Regions from separate parts of the Homo sapiens genome. Here region 1 is linked to region 2. The links are contacts of gene promoters, found by promoter capture Hi-C in human tissues and cell types (Jung and others, 2019). All regions are on one chromosome and are shown on one strand. Each heading gives the region's core, a stretch centred on a gene start or on the middle of the fragment in contact. The rest is flanking DNA. Distances are from core to core; before and after follow the strand shown. Region 1 overlaps LINC02994 (long intergenic non-protein coding RNA 2994). Region 2 holds the start of NKX6-1 (NK6 homeobox 1).

What was found. Contacts are between HindIII fragments. The study calls those that stand out against the background at their distance.
Region 1: a contact is called between a fragment that was not itself captured here and the fragment with the promoter of NKX6-1 in region 2, in 1 of the 25 tissues and cell types used here (dorsolateral prefrontal cortex).

The regions. Positions count from the first base shown.
Region 1 is chr4:84,238,756-84,242,426 of GRCh38, reverse strand. All of the region lies in intron 5 of LINC02994 (long intergenic non-protein coding RNA 2994), which reads left to right. Among named protein-coding and RNA genes, the nearest start is that of LINC02994, 59 kb to the left of the region's middle. The HindIII fragment of the contact is 9,303 bases long and covers 1-3,671 here.
Region 2 is chr4:84,497,375-84,501,125 of GRCh38, reverse strand. NKX6-1 (NK6 homeobox 1) reads left to right here and starts at 1,834. Exons shown (of 3, transcript NM_006168.3): 1 at 1,834-3,567. The coding sequence starts at 2,898. The HindIII fragment of the contact is 8,742 bases long and covers 1-3,751 here.

The sequences.
Region 1 (3,671 bases), core at 72-2,571, 260 kb after region 2:
CTTTCCATTATTTTGACGTTTAAACTCAGTTTCACTACCACTACTCCGAAGTGGAATTGCTAGATCATATATAATCCCATACATAAGTTTCTAACTCCATCACTGGGCGGTAAATGTCGGAAACTCAGAAGTGCAGGCTTTGGTGCAGGAATGTGAGTAGTTAGAGGCCGTTACACAATACTTTAGGCCAGCGATCCAGAGCCACCCCATTGAAGATGAAGATGCATCCTTTGTTTGGCAGAAGTTACAGTAGTGATAACAGCAAGGGATAGGAAAGCTGAAGGATCTGGAACACATTAGTCATCTGGTCATAGGAAGCAAGATTGATAGTGGGTGAGCACAGAAATGTCTCACATTATGGGAATAGAAAGGAAAGAACTATAGTTTTCAAACTTCAATCAACTTAGAAAAATTTGTGTCATCTTTTGATTCCTGGGCTTCATTCTCAAGAGATTCCCATTCAGTAAGCCCTTTTGAGGCTCAAAAATCTGCATTTTAATAAACATCAGAGAAAAATAATTGGGGAAAAATAATTCCTAACAACTGTCAGGTGATGAAAACTAACTCTTGATTACCCATGTTAACATGAAGAAAAGTACAATATCCTGAATCAATGACTCTCAAGCGCTGGGCTATAAACCAATTCTGTGCTGGCTACTTCATCACTTGGATAACTTGCTGCATTAAGAAATACCTGGGCCCCAGTGCCTGATTCTCAGTGTGTGTTATATTTTTCTCTATCTTCACAGGTTGGCAATTTCATAGAAGGCCCACTTTTCCCAGTTTTAAGGTAGTGATTAAATCCAAAATACAACTGAGTGCTTTAGAGGAAGGAACACACGTGGGACTCCCATAGTTAAACTAAATGTCATACAGACTTCTCTAATGCTTTGATTTTTAGAAACTTGACTCATGCTATCACACAGTCTGTACAAGTCTGGCCCCTTCCTCAGGATTAGTGCAAATCCTGTGGTATAGCTCCGCCCAGAGACAGAGGCACCGGGAGGAGCAACTATAGACTTCATCCCCTCCTAACTTTTCAATTTTCAAACCCACTCATGAATTCTTTGAGGTTAATAACTTTACTGAAGATCCCTGGAGTGAAGACAGGCACCATATTACTACATGGCAGTAATCTCCCACTTGTTAATTGCCCCACACCATCTTCTGTTGTATTTTCTAAAATCCAAGCTCCTAATCTGTGCTGTACTTGTTCATTCAGCTCTCTAGAAATTGCAGTAGAATCTGCCATTCTCCATGGGATTGTTGCCATCAGCAAAAATTTTCTATTTACTACCAACAAGTCTCCGGAGGGGGGAATATATTGTGTTAAGATGGTTGTTTAAGATGTTATTTTCCCAGGATTCAGGATCCTGAGTCTACACGATAGAATAACTACCAAACCATATCAAGATCCTAAGGATGGTATGGGGAGGTCATGCCCTCTTCAAACTTCTGCAGTTCGACTCAAACTTTCTCTCTTTAACTTCAACCTAAGAAGGTCTCCTAATGATCCAGATCATAACACATGGAATCCATAACTCTATTAGCTTGCAATAGGCAGCCCTGAAGCCAGGATCAAGATTGCAGAGTAGCCTTCCTGATTTGCTTTCCCTTATCCCCATACTCAAATCTTAGTTCTCTGTGTTTTTAACATTCAGATTATAGGATTACACTAAGAAAAGAAGACAGTGTTTGCCCCAACAGTGATTTATTTAAATTATTTTGATGATACTAAGTATCCCAATTAATATGTTTGGACTTGACCCACTCATATCATCACTTGATCTCCTGAGGTAAGGGGATTGGCTGGTGGAAGGAAGGTAGACTGGAAAGGAGTCCCTCTAGAGCTGTTAATCTGTCCCATCAAATCACCATAAATCAGTTCCTAATTTTCAATAGAAACAGAAACAGCATTATTTTAACTGGAACCTGACTTTCATACTTCCCTGTAAACCACTATCTTGAGCACTGTGGGAATTTGTGGAGAATAACAATTTATAATTGAGGGCTGGGCACAGCGGCTCACACCTGTAATCCCAACACTCTGGGAGGCCAAGGCGGCAGGAATAGTTGAGTCCAGGAGTTCAAGACCAGCCTGGGCAACATGGCAAAACCCTGTTTCTACAAAAAATACAAAAATTAGCTGGGTGTGGTGGTATACTCCTGTAGTCCCAGCTACTTGGGAGGCTGAGATGGGAGGATCATCTGAGCCCAGGAGGTTGGGGCTGCAGTGAGCCTTGAGCATACCACCTTACTCCAGTTTTGGAAACAGAGTGAGACCCAGTCTCTAAGAAAAAAAAAGAATTTATAATTGAGATTTGAATTTTATTTTTATTTAGTTGGGCTAGTGCCAGCATTGGTCACTTTAAGCCATTCAGTCAACACATTTTATTAAGCAACTGCTGTGCTTAGTAAAATACTAATTTTATTGAATAACTACTATGTACTCACTGAGCTAAGTACTGGATATATAATGGTGAACAAGACAGAAATAGTATAATACCTGCCAGTCTAGTATGAAGGTCTCTAAGTAAACAAATAAACAAATACTTAGAAATTGTGAGTAAGCATCAAAAAGAAAACAATAAAAAGGAGGTGAGATAGAGAATAAAATGAATTATATACTTTATAGATAGGGTCATGGGGCCTTTCTAAGAAGGTAACATTGAAGCTGAGACCTAAAGGATGGGAAGGAACTTGCCATGTGATGAGACGTGAAGTGGCTAAGCTGGTTTCCTAGGCAAAGGCCTTGAGGCCAAGGAGCCTGAGGCAAAAGGAACTGGCTGAAGCTCAATGGGAGGGAGTGGCAAGAGCCCAGGAGGTAGAGGTTGCAGTGAGCCAAGATCGTGCCACTAAACTCCAGCCTGGTTGACAGAGCAGGACTCTGTCTCAAAAAAAAAAAGAAAAAACGAAAAAAGTGAGAGAGAGAGATAAGGGTGGCTGTATCATCAGACTTCCCAGCACACAGGACATTGCAAGGCCATGGGGAGGAGTTCTGAGCCATGGAGAGGGTGGGCGGGAAAGGCATAGGACTGGAAGTAGGAAGGTAGGTGAGAAGCTTACTAACTGCCCTGCACAATCTGTCCTGTACAAATTTTAATGCTGATTTTTCCATGACTGATGGCAGTTTATTCTTTCTAGATGTCTCTCTTACTTGATTACACAGTTTTAGGTCAAGCACGTTGTTTCAGAATGCATTCAACACCTAGCAGTAGGTGTTAAATAAGTACTTGTTGACTATATGGATGTCCTATGTGCTCAGTTAGCCTGAGATACAATTGCTGTATCTCCCTAGTACCCAGCACAGTGCTATGCACAGGGTACATGTGGAGGATTAATTTAGAGGGCTTTGCAGGATCACATAGAAAAGAGTTTTTTTTTAATCTGGCATTTTCTCTTACTTTACCATATAATCTTACCTGAATAGACTTAGCATTTTTCTATGAATTATTCATTTTGGCACGTACCCTGTAAAACATCTAAAGTTTCTAACCTTTTGAAACCACAAGGCTTCCCCAGCCAGCATTTAGAGTGAAATCTCTGTGGTAGCACTTTACCAATTTACCCCTTAGCTCTTTTTCAGTTCTTGGCTCATGTGAATAAGCAGGCCAAAATGCTCTTCTGGGAATGCACAGCATGGATATATATTTTTTACTATCACAGCAGAA
Region 2 (3,751 bases), core at 585-3,084:
ATGCAGAAGGTCCGCACATCAGCTCTCTTCTGAAGCAAGTCTTGGCTTGACTCCTTAGCACTATTCATGCTGACGAAGGACTTCACCTTACCCCAGGTCAGATTCTAAAGTCCATGAAATAATAGATTTAAACCAGTCTTGAAGTTAATGAAGAAAGATAAAGGAAGAGGAGGACCAAATAACATTGCTTCTATCTTAGAAGGAAATAAAACTGGCAAATATAACCCTTCCTTCCCCCAGTTTCAGACTCAAACTCAAGCTGACCCTTAAAAACTAGTGCTTAGTAAACGAAGGTTATCGAAGCGGAGTACGCCCTCCTGGCTTTTCGTGCTTGGACCCAAATGAGCGCTTTGACACCAATAGCTAAACTCCATCCGTCGGTGGTGCTGATCAAATTTTATTCTTGAGCCATTTATTGCGTTTATTTCTGTTTTCTGCTCATTAAAATTGTAATTAATGATCTCATCCAAATTTGCTGTAGCGACCACCTTCCAATGGTGTGTTACTTTAACATGCTGAATTCTCAAAATTGTCAAAGGGTTTTCCTTCTCCAGCCCGCAGTTCAACCCTGTCGGGAACGTAAAGATCAGCCAGAGATGGAAGAGATTTAGAGAGTAAAGGAAGCCACCCTTCAACTCCTAAACTCTAGATAGACATCCCACCACCACTGTCCAGGAGCTGGTACATCTCCATCTCCCGTAGCAACTCTAGAATTGGGAGTAGGCGCCAGAGTTTTGGAGAGGGTTTTCAAAAGCTTACAGTTCCCAGGGTGTACCTAGATGCTTCTGTATCTAAAGTTTCCGCCTGAATTTTGATGATTCTACCCCCATGTAAACCCAAAGGAAATAACAACAATAATCAAAGGGAGAAAAGTTAAGGGAAAAAACTCCCTCACTGTTCTCAGGTATAAACATCATCTGACAGATAAATATTCCTATTAAACGGATTCAGTTTTCAGCGAATTGAGTAACCCATAAATGATAATGAACGCGGTGGGAAGCGACGGGCGGGGGGGAACTCGGGAATGAAAAAAAAAATAAAGTGGAGGAGAAAGAACAGAAAAGGAAAGCAGGAGGTGGAAAGATGGAAGAGGACGATCCTTTGGCCTACAAGGGGATTAAGGACATCTATAAGGCTTAAGGAGCAACAAATTAATTTACACAATTCTGGGAGAGCCCAGATGGCCTTTAATTAATCCCTTCAAAAGAAGGAGCCAGGCCAGGGCTGCGCCGGCTGCCTGCTCCATTAGCTCCATTTTACAAGGGACCAGACTTGGTTCGAGGTGAGGCGCCCTCCAGAGCTGGTGGGGGAAGGGGATAGGATGACGCGAGCGGGCTAGTGGGGAAGCAAGGGAAGAATATGAACTGCTTTTCCATAAAAGGGCTGAGTTTTCATTATTCCTCTCTTTAAAAAGTAATACCCTCTTCGTCTCTGCTTCCCCCTCCCCTTTCTCATTTTATTTAGCACAATTAATTGAGGCGGCCACTGGCCCCAGCGCGGAACCGCACCACTCACCAGCTCCCGCCCCTCCTGGCCCCGCCCACAGGAGAAAGAAGTAGGGAGCGGGAGGGGACTAGGCGGGCGCGGCCCTACGCCTGGCCCGCCTCAGCCAATCAGAGGGTGCGGCGCCCCCGAGTGGGCGAGCCCCAGGGGCGACGCAAGGATCGAGGCGGCGAGCTATTGGACACGGTGGTTACGCCCCCGGCCTGCGCCCGGCTCGCCGGCCCCCGCAGCCTCGGAGTGACGTCCCTCAAAGTTCTCATTTTGGTCCCCCACTTCCCCCTCCCTTTCGTCCCCCAGCTAAAGAGGGGTAGGGAGTGATGCAAATGTTTTATTACCTTTGAGAGCTTCATCTGAACTGTCAGGCCCGGAGGGAGAGAGGAAAGGAGAGAAAGAGCGGAGGAGCCGCGGAGAGGGTCAGTTTGGCCAGAGGACAGGACTTAGAAGACCGAAGCCTGGGAAGCCGCGAAGAAAATGCCAGAGAGGAGAGTCAAAGGCTGAGAGTGAGAGGGAGAGAGGGAGCGGGGGTGGGGCGGGGGTCGCCGGGCCCGTTTGCAGAAGTGGACTGACGAGCGGCGCCGAAACCCAGCCGTCAGACTTTTCACACTTAGTCTTTTGTTTTTCTGTGTTTTTCCTCCCCCTTTTTCTTTTCAATATTGCAACTCCAGTGCCCCGTGGGCCAGAGGGCAAGGCGGGTGGAGGTGAGGACCTGGGAGCCGCGGGGATCCGTGGCACTGCCCTTTCTGGCGCAGCAGCCCGGGGCAGCGTGGGCGGAGGAAGCCCGCACAGAGGCTAGATCTCCCGCGGGCTGGATGCGCTTTCTCCCCGGGCACAGTGAGCGTCGAATGCGAATCAGCCGCGCGACCGAAAGAGCAGAGCATCCCAGTAAGATCAGAGGAGCGCCACGGGCTGCACAAGGCGTCCTTTGAACCTCCCCAAAGAAAGCAAGCCACCCCCACCCTCCAACTTCAAAGTGGAGATTCGGCAACTAACTTTGCTACAAACTCTCCGGAGCCAGCCTGGGTTTTGTTTTGCTTATTTCCCGGGGGCAGAAGATGAGAAGTAGCGCACTTTGAACAGCTAGGAAAAGTGAGGAAGAGAGAATAGCCAGGGATCGAATCTAGGACTCGCGGAACGAAAGGACTGCCTAGCCCGCCGGGACGCCTGCTTTTCTCGGCGAGCTGCCGCCTCCCGCGTGGAGGGTTTGGACATCTCTGCTGCGCAGCTAGGCGAGCAACTCCCGGCAGCGGCATTTTTGGTTCAGTTGGCAGCTCGCCTCCGGGCGCGCCGAGTGCCTCTCCGCTCGCGCCCTCGGCGCTTCCGGCTCCTCTGAGCCCCGCGGGGGGCACCAGCCAGCGCCCTCGCTGCAAGGCTACGGTCTCCGGCGTGGCCGTGGGATGTTAGCGGTGGGGGCAATGGAGGGCACCCGGCAGAGCGCATTCCTGCTCAGCAGCCCTCCCCTGGCCGCCCTGCACAGCATGGCCGAGATGAAGACCCCGCTGTACCCTGCCGCGTATCCCCCGCTGCCTGCCGGCCCCCCCTCCTCCTCGTCCTCGTCGTCGTCCTCCTCGTCGCCCTCCCCGCCTCTGGGCACCCACAACCCAGGCGGCCTGAAGCCCCCGGCCACGGGGGGGCTCTCATCCCTCGGCAGCCCCCCGCAGCAGCTCTCGGCCGCCACCCCACACGGCATCAACGATATCCTGAGCCGGCCCTCCATGCCCGTGGCCTCGGGGGCCGCCCTGCCCTCCGCCTCGCCCTCCGGTTCCTCCTCCTCCTCTTCCTCGTCCGCCTCTGCCTCCTCCGCCTCTGCCGCCGCCGCGGCTGCTGCCGCGGCCGCAGCCGCCGCCTCATCCCCGGCGGGGCTGCTGGCCGGACTGCCACGCTTTAGCAGCCTGAGCCCGCCGCCGCCGCCGCCCGGGCTCTACTTCAGCCCCAGCGCCGCGGCCGTGGCCGCCGTGGGCCGGTACCCCAAGCCGCTGGCTGAGCTGCCTGGCCGGACGCCCATCTTCTGGCCCGGAGTGATGCAGAGCCCGCCCTGGAGGGACGCACGCCTGGCCTGTACCCCTCGTGAGTACTACCACCCGCGCCCCGATGCCTGCCTGCCGTGCCTGTTCTGCCCACTCCCGGGTCGCGGCCCCTGGTGTGCATGCCGCTCAGTCCATCCTGTGGCCCGCCCCAGTAGTTTGACAGCGCCGGAATCACACCAGTTAGGTTGGGCCAGGGCTTCCAGAAAGGGATTCTCGCTTTTCTG